Linked DNA regions of Homo sapiens: regions 2 and 3 are each linked to region 1. Evidence: promoter capture Hi-C in 16 types of primary human blood cells and fetal thymus (Javierre and others, 2016). All regions are on one chromosome and are shown on one strand. The core of a region is centred on a gene start or on the middle of the fragment in contact, and the rest is flanking DNA. Distances in the headings are between cores, read along the strand shown.

Region 1 (2,523 bases), core at 7-2,506:
CTGTAGGGCAGGGCCTGACCTCACCCCACACCCCAGTGGCTTCAGCTCCCTGCCCAGCGCACGGGCTGCCTCCATCAGGGCACTTAAGTAGAGTCAAGGTTTGCGCCGACTCCGTCTCCCAGAAATCAACGTGGACCAGGCCCACTTAAAAAATATGCATTAGTCGAAGACAGACGTCTCGTCCATAGGTCCCCAGACTGTTTGTCCACAACGCAGGGCTTCTCTTTGTGGGCCTGAAGGAGCACACGTCAGGCAAGACACGAGGGCAACTTCAGAGACACTGTTCAGGGCCACGGAGAATTCTCGAAGTCTGTGAGTTGTCTCCAAAACAGCCTCCAGGAAATGCAATCCCAGAGACACCGCAAAGCTCAAAACAGACTTTTCATTCCTCCCCATTTCCACTCCCAGAAAAAGCCTGGGCCCCTGAAAGAGCTCCAAGGTATCCCCAAAGTCCCAGCCCATCTTTGGAGGGTTCCAGAGGGCTGTCCAGGGTTCCAGAAGTCACCCTACCTCATACAATGCTCCTCCTGGGCTTCCCGCACTGGGTGAAACCCACGGCTCCAGAATAACTGCCCTTTCCAACTTGCAGAGCACCTCAAGAACCTAAAGATTTCCCCGGGGAGGGCTCCAAAATATAGAGAGTTTGCATCGTGAACCCCCACCCCTGTAAATCCCAGGACTCCAGTCCCCGCAACACTCCATCTTCCAGAGATCTCCAGGGGTCCAGAAATAACACCTCACAGCCTTCCAAGCTTCCCAAGGATCCGGAGACTCCTTATCTCGCAGCGCAAACCTCAGGCAACTACAGGTCCTCCCTGCACCTTTGAGGTGCCCCTCCCCCCACTCAAGGTTCCAGAAAAATCCATGCCCTCGGAAACCCCAGAATCTTACTTTCCCGAGGCACCCCAGGACCCCAGGGTCATCAGTTCACAGGGCTGTTAGTGCTCCCATAAAACTCTAGCCTCCCAGAGGGACCCCAGCCCCCACCCTCCCGCCCACGAACCCCTGCATTTCCAGAATCAGCCCCAGGGCCCCAACCCCCCCAAGCCCCCATTTCACAACACGCTGGCGCTACAGGCGCGTGACTTCCCCTTGCTTTGGGGCGGGGGGCTGAGACTCCTATGTGCTCCGGATTGGTCAGGCACGGCCTTCGGCCCCGCCTCCTGCCACCGCAGATTGGCCGCTAGCCCTCCCCGAGCGCCCTGCCTCCGAGGGCCGGCGCACCATAAAAGAAGCCGCCCTAGCCACGTCCCCTCGCAGTTCGGCGGTCCCGCGGGTCTGTCTCTTGCTTCAACAGTGTTTGGACGGAACAGATCCGGGGACTCTCTTCCAGCCTCCGACCGCCCTCCGATTTCCTCTCCGCTTGCAACCTCCGGGACCATCTTCTCGGCCATCTCCTGCTTCTGGGACCTGCCAGCACCGTTTTTGTGGTTAGCTCCTTCTTGCCAACCAACCATGAGCTCCCAGATTCGTCAGAATTATTCCACCGACGTGGAGGCAGCCGTCAACAGCCTGGTCAATTTGTACCTGCAGGCCTCCTACACCTACCTCTCTCTGGTGAGTCCCCAGGACGCCCCTGGCCCTAATTTCCTCCAGCTGCGCACCTCCGGCCCTCACTGCACGCGCCAGCCTTCTTTGTGCGGTCGGGTAAACAGAGGGCGGAGTCCCCTTGGCCTCGCCTCCCGCTAACCATTGTTGCCTCCATCTCTTCCCGTAGGGCTTCTATTTCGACCGCGATGATGTGGCTCTGGAAGGCGTGAGCCACTTCTTCCGCGAATTGGCCGAGGAGAAGCGCGAGGGCTACGAGCGTCTCCTGAAGATGCAAAACCAGCGTGGCGGCCGCGCTCTCTTCCAGGACATCAAGGTAACTAGTGTGTGGGTAATGGACTACATCTCCCAGCAGGCCGTGCGCGCGAGGAGCCTTGATTTGAGGGCGTAGGTGTCGCGTGGGCTTCTGGGAGATTGAGTTCGGTCTTGTGAGCCCTCTTAACCGCTGGAAATAGAGGCGCACCTCGTGCAGTGCCCACAACACGCGGCAGTCCACACCGCTGCGTGGTCTTAGGGACGTATAGCTGTAAGAGCTAGGACAGGGTGCGGAGAGTGATAAATACAAGCTGTCACATGTCTTTGTGGCCTGGGCCTCTGACCCCCAACGACTCTTGGGAAATGTAGGTTTAGTTCTATGTGCCGAGTGTGTGTATTCTGAGCCATTTCTCCCTTCTATATAGAAGCCAGCTGAAGATGAGTGGGGTAAAACCCCAGACGCCATGAAAGCTGCCATGGCCCTGGAGAAAAAGCTGAACCAGGCCCTTTTGGATCTTCATGCCCTGGGTTCTGCCCGCACGGACCCCCATGTACGTACCCGCTGCATCCATGGCTACCCAACCATACCCCTCAAGCCTCTGCTCCCTTTGGGCAAATTTCCTTCAGAGCCTCATTTCACACCTGTCACATTTTAATCTGCAACTGGCTGCTCTCTCCCCCTCTTTTCCAGGGATTGGGTTTCTAATTTCTCCCTCTTCT
Region 2 (2,523 bases), core at 10-2,509, 630 kb before region 1:
AAGGTCAAAATAAGTGATACATCTAAGTATCTAGGCTTGTATGGGCCTAAACGGGAGCAGGGATGGGGCAGAGAAGGGTCACATGGTGAGCAAGCAGGTGAAGCTGGAACTCTGGACCCACGGTGATGTCCCCCTCTGTGTCCTCCTTACTGCAGGCTGGCTGAAGGCGGTGCAGGTCCTCATGGTGCTCTCCCTCATTCTCTGCTGTCTCTCCTTCATCCTGTTCATGTTCCAGCTCTACACCATGCGACGAGGAGGTCTCTTCTATGCCACCGGCCTCTGCCAGCTTTGCACCAGTGAGCACTGCCCCTCCCCAACCCTAATCCCCCAAGAATTGAGCAGAAGGGAGTGGGGTGTGTCAAGATGCTGGGGGCCCTGAGAATGGGCCTCTCGTAGAAAAAAACAACTTTCAACACCCCACGAGCCACAAGAGGTGCCTCCGTGGGCTACATCTCTGCCCCCAGGGATTGCTGGGACTTGTAGTTTTCAGTGGCTAATGATAGTTATGGCTTGTGCGTATGAGTCATCAGGGAACTCAGAGTTTCAGGGAGCCGGGGCTGGGGAAGGAGGTATAGGTAAATAGTTTTGGTCCCAGGGATCGGCCGTGACGTGGGGGGATAAACTAATTAGTACCTCAGTAGAGAGCTCTAAATCATAATAATAATGGTATTTATATCAGCCAACCGCTGTTTCTTGCGTGCCTATTGTGCATCAGATACTTCAAGAAGTTTTGCGTACTTTTTAATTTTTTGACTTAAGGTGCAAAGGGCTAACTTAATCACAGTCAGTTTGGGGAACATTATAGGTTCTTGCAAAGCTTCTCTCTTGGTTTATGAATTTACTACTGCATGTTTGGCTTATAGAAACACACTCAAAAATATTCCTTGGATGGATAGAGAGATATTATTGGACCTAGAGAGATTAAATCAGTTACCTAAGGCCGCGCTACAGTTGCACGGCGCTGGGCGGGGGGGAAAGAACCACAACTCCCAGCAGGCAGCGGCGCTGCCCACGGGCCCTCCGGCGCTTCTTTGCCCCCATGGGATATTGGGAAATGTAGTCTTGAGGGGGCACTGCATGACGTGTGGTTTTCATCTTCCGCAGGCGTGGCGGTGTTTACTGGCGCCTTGATCTATGCCATTCACGCCGAGGAGATCCTGGAGAAGCACCCGCGAGGGGGCAGCTTCGGATACTGCTTCGCCCTGGCCTGGGTGGCCTTCCCCCTCGCCCTGGTCAGCGGCATCATCTACATCCACCTACGGAAGCGGGAGTGAGCGCCCCGCCTCGCTCGGCTGCCCCCGCCCCTTCCCGGCCCCCCTCGCCGCGCGTCCTCCAAAAAATAAAACCTTAACCGCGGGCTCTGCCTTGATCTTCCTTCCTTCCGCCTCCAGGGACCCAGGCTGCGCACGCTTGACCTCTCCTGAACCTAACATGGTCCCCACCGCCAGCTGCTCAGCCCTCAGAATGCCCATCTCCCAGCCCCCAACCCCTTCCTCCCGAGGACACAGGAGCCGGGACCCCAGGCACCTTTTCCCTCCCACAGACCCAAGAGCCTGGGCCTTCCCCGCTCAAGGCCCAAGAGACCTCTGTGAGGCACCTGAATCTAGACCTTCAGACACTTCTGGGAAGAACCTGGATTCTGGGTCCCAGCAGACCCTGTTAGGATAGGAAGCCTGCAGTGACCAGTCCTGTCTCCTTGCTCAAGCTTCTGTCACTCTGTTGCTCTCTCTCTCTGAACCCCGGGCATAGTGTGTGTTTCTAGATTGTCGGACTCTTTTTTTCTTTCTGTCCAGGTTGGAGTGCAGTGGTACGATCTCAGCTCACTGCAACCTCCGCCTCCCGGGTTGAAGCGATTCTCCTGCCTCAGCCTCCCGAGTAGCTGGGACTACAGGCACGAGCCACCACACCCGGCTAGTTCTGGACTCTTTTTTCTTTCTACTAACTTTCCATTTGGGAAGACAGCTTTCTTTTTCCCTCTAGGAAACCAGTCTCCCTCTCTCTCTTTTTTTTTTTTTTTTTTTTTTTTGAGACGGAGTCTCGCTCTGTCACCTAGGCTGTAGTGCAGTGGTGCGATCTTCACTCACTGCAACCTCCGCCTCCCGGGTTCAAGCAATTCTCCTGCCTCAGCCTCCTGAGCAGCTGGGATTACAGGCGCCCACCACCACGTCCGGCTAATTTTTGTATCTTTAGTAGACACGGGGTTTCACCATGTTGGCCAGGCTGGTCTTGAACTCCTGACCTCAGGTGATCCACCCACCTCAGCCTCCCAAAGTGCTGGGATTACAGGCGGGAGCCACCGCGCCCAGCCCAGTCTCCCTCTCTAGGGACTGAACATTTGGGGTCCTAGAGAGGGAGACTTCCCCTGTCTCCCCAAAGGCTGCCTCTAGCCCATATGACACGTTAGCAAAAATTAGGAGGCACCCCTTCTTCTGGCTGACCCAGCCCCACACCAGGATACATGTAGGGGTATGGGCTGGGTCTTACAGCCACCCACCCGTGGCTGTGTTCCTTTGTGCAGTTAAC
Region 3 (2,523 bases), core at 12-2,511, 600 kb before region 1:
CATCTCGGAGACCTGGCTCCTGCATTCCAGCTCATCTCCCGCCCACTAGGGAAACACGAAGGGACCCGGGAACTACAACTCCCAGGAGGCGCCAGGGCAGCTCTCTGCAGCAACTAGGGCCCTGCCGCCGCGAAGCCTGCTGGGAGCCGTAGTCCCCAGGCTCTTGGGCCTGGGACAGGCGGTACCTGTATTAGGAGGCGGAGCAGCTGCTCCTTGGAGAAGGGAATGAAGCGCTCGCGGTACTGCTGGGCCCAGTCGCGGGGCTCCCTGGGGTTCCACATCTTGCGATACTCCCCCATTTTGGCTGCCAGCGATGAGAGGGCCCGGGGGGGCCCGAGGAGCGCGGGCAACAGTGGCCATACTCGGACCCTGGACCCCCAGACCCCCCGGGTCACATGCAGCATGGCTAGACCCTTTCCCCGGAGCCTAAACAGAGGAAAATGGGCAGGGGTCAAAGGCCATCTAGAGGAAAAGCGCCCTCTCCACCTCCACGTCCCACCCTCCAGAAGCCGTCTCTACCCCAGGCAGGGCGCAGAGCCCATCCGCTCGCCTCAAAGCCCCTGTTGCCTGTCCCCTTCCCACACTGCTCAGTTGGCCTGGGTCCCAGACAGGGGTCAGAGGTCTTAGGTTCTGGGGCGTTTTTCAGGCCCAGAGACCCTGTAGTGGTACAACGTTTCTTTGGGGTCTAGACAGCGAGGTAGATCTTAGGAGAGCAGGAAATGCTCGTAAAGGTTACCTAGGGGGTGCAGGGCCGCCCTCCCTGGCCATGCAATCCCCCGATTTCTCCCTCACCTTAGCCAAAGCTCGACTGTCATTGAGCCTCCTGCGCATGTGCAGGAGGGCGTCCTGGGCTCCCGAGGTTCGGCTTCACCCAGCAGTAAAACGCATGCGCAAAGCTTCGGTCAATGCGGGCTGTCCATTTCTCACCGCCGACTCCCTACATCAACTACGCATGCGTTGCCTGCCTTTCTCCACCGCCGGCCTCGTTTGGGCGCGACGCATGCGCCGCAGGAGTGTCTCCTTGTCAGCTTGCTACAAAGGGAAGGGGCGGTGTGGACGCGAGACTCCCTAGAGGGATGGGGCGGGGTAGGGCTCCCGCGCGCAGTCCGCCAACGGCGCGCAGTCCAACGTTCGCCGAGGCCACGCCCCGGCTCGTGTCAGCTCCTGAGTAGGCGGAAAGAGGGAGGGGGCGGGACTTGGGCGCAGCCAATCAGCTGTGGAGGAGCGAAAAGGCGGGAAAAAGCGGAACCAAAAGAAGGCTGAGGTGGCGCTAGGGACCAGGAGGGGTGGGGGTGGCGAAAGGAAGGGCGGGCCCTCAGGTGACGCAGATTGGCCCTCCAGAGAAGGGGCGGCCCCTTCTCAGGTGCCGTCACCCCCAAACCTCAGCACTGCCATTCCAGGTCCTTAAAGGGGAGACCGCGATTCTAAGAAGGTAGCCCAGTGCCGGGGCGTGGCCTCATTCTGAGGTTCCCCACAAATCCGAGGTCCCGACTCCCAGCTTGAGGAGGTGCACTTCCGTGAAAATGGAGCTGAATTCGAAAGGGAGGCCCTTATTCTGGGAAATGGCCCCAAGTGACAAGGACAGCCTGAAATATGCCCTGAGATACCTGGGTTCTCCACGAAGGGTGCTGTCACCCCCAAACCTGAAAGGGATTATTCGGTTTCAGACCTCCCAGGGGCTCTGATCTCAATGGCCGCACCCCCTAGTCCCCAGAAAGTCCCACCTGTGTCCTCTCACAGAAGGACCCAGTCCCTCTGCAGGCCCTTCAGCTCCTGGGTCACAAGACGTGGTCCCCAAATATCCCAGCCCTCCCCTGCACTCCACCTCTGGGATCCCTGACAGCCCTCTCGCCCAACAACCCCCTCAGCCCACATTCCTGACTTCTGGAACCTGAAGCAGCCCCTTCACTTATGTCCCCCACTCCTGGGACCCCCAGAATCACCCTCACCCCAGGCCCTCACCTCTCTGGAATCCTCCATAGACCCCCTTAACCCACACCTCAACCCAGGGGACCCTTAGCGACTCTCTCATCCTGCACCTCCACCTCTGTGACCCCTGGCAGCCCTCCCCACACGACACCTTGCCTGGGACCCCTAGTATCCCCATCCTATGCCCCCCTCTCCTGGGACCCCCAGAAAGCTCCCTCACCACACACAACCCCATTCCTGGGAACCCCCAGCACCCGCATCCTATGTCCCCCACTTCAGGGACCCCTAGCAGCCCTCTCCACACAACACCTTTCCTGGGACCCCCCAGAACCCCCATCCTATGCCTCCCACTTCTGGGACCCCTAGTAGCCCCCTCACCACACAACCCCATTCCTGGGACCCCCAGCACCCCCATCCTATGCCCCCCACTCCTGGGGCCCACAGAAGCCCCCTCAGCACACACAACCTCATTCCCTGGGACCCACCTGCACCCCCATCCTACGTCCCCGACTTCTGGGGCCCCTGACAGCCCATTCACCCCACACCCTGACTCCTAAGAGGCTCAGCAGTCCCCTCACCCCACACAACTCCATT

The links. Contacts are between HindIII fragments. The CHiCAGO score rates a contact against its expected background, and 5 or more counts as called.
Region 2: a fragment that was not itself captured here is called in contact with the fragment with the promoter of FTL in region 1 in 1 of 17 cell types (fetal thymus); the score reaches 5.3 in fetal thymus.
Region 3: the fragment with the promoter of SYNGR4 here is called in contact with the fragment with the promoter of FTL in region 1 in 2 of 17 cell types (fetal thymus and naive B cells); the score reaches 7.3 in fetal thymus.

Annotation. Positions count from the first base shown.
Region 1 is chr19:48,964,053-48,966,575 of GRCh38, forward strand. It overlaps FTL (ferritin light chain), which reads left to right and starts at 1,257. Exons shown (of 4, transcript NM_000146.4): 1 at 1,257-1,557; 2 at 1,718-1,864; 3 at 2,229-2,354. The coding sequence starts at 1,456. RefSeq lists a cis regulatory region at 1-156, a silencer at 1,087-1,246 and an enhancer at 1,497-1,546. The HindIII fragment of the contact is 1,823 bases long and covers 751-2,523 here.
Region 2 is chr19:48,329,197-48,331,719 of GRCh38, forward strand. It overlaps EMP3 (epithelial membrane protein 3 (MAM blood group)), which reads left to right. Exons shown (of 5, transcript NM_001425.3): 4 at 156-296; 5 at 1,105-1,357. The coding sequence ends at 1,274. Among named protein-coding and RNA genes, the nearest start is that of EMP3, 4.9 kb to the left of the region's middle. RefSeq lists an enhancer at 206-355. The HindIII fragment of the contact is 888 bases long and covers 816-1,703 here.
Region 3 is chr19:48,363,106-48,365,628 of GRCh38, forward strand. SYNGR4 (synaptogyrin 4) reads left to right here and starts at 1,262. Exons shown (of 5, transcript NM_012451.4): 1 at 1,262-1,432. It overlaps TMEM143 (transmembrane protein 143), which reads right to left and starts at 835. Exons shown (of 8, transcript NM_018273.4): 1 at 793-835; 2 at 186-426. The coding sequence starts at 815. RefSeq lists enhancers at 387-436, 917-1,036, 1,407-1,556. The HindIII fragment of the contact is 5,293 bases long and covers 895-2,523 here.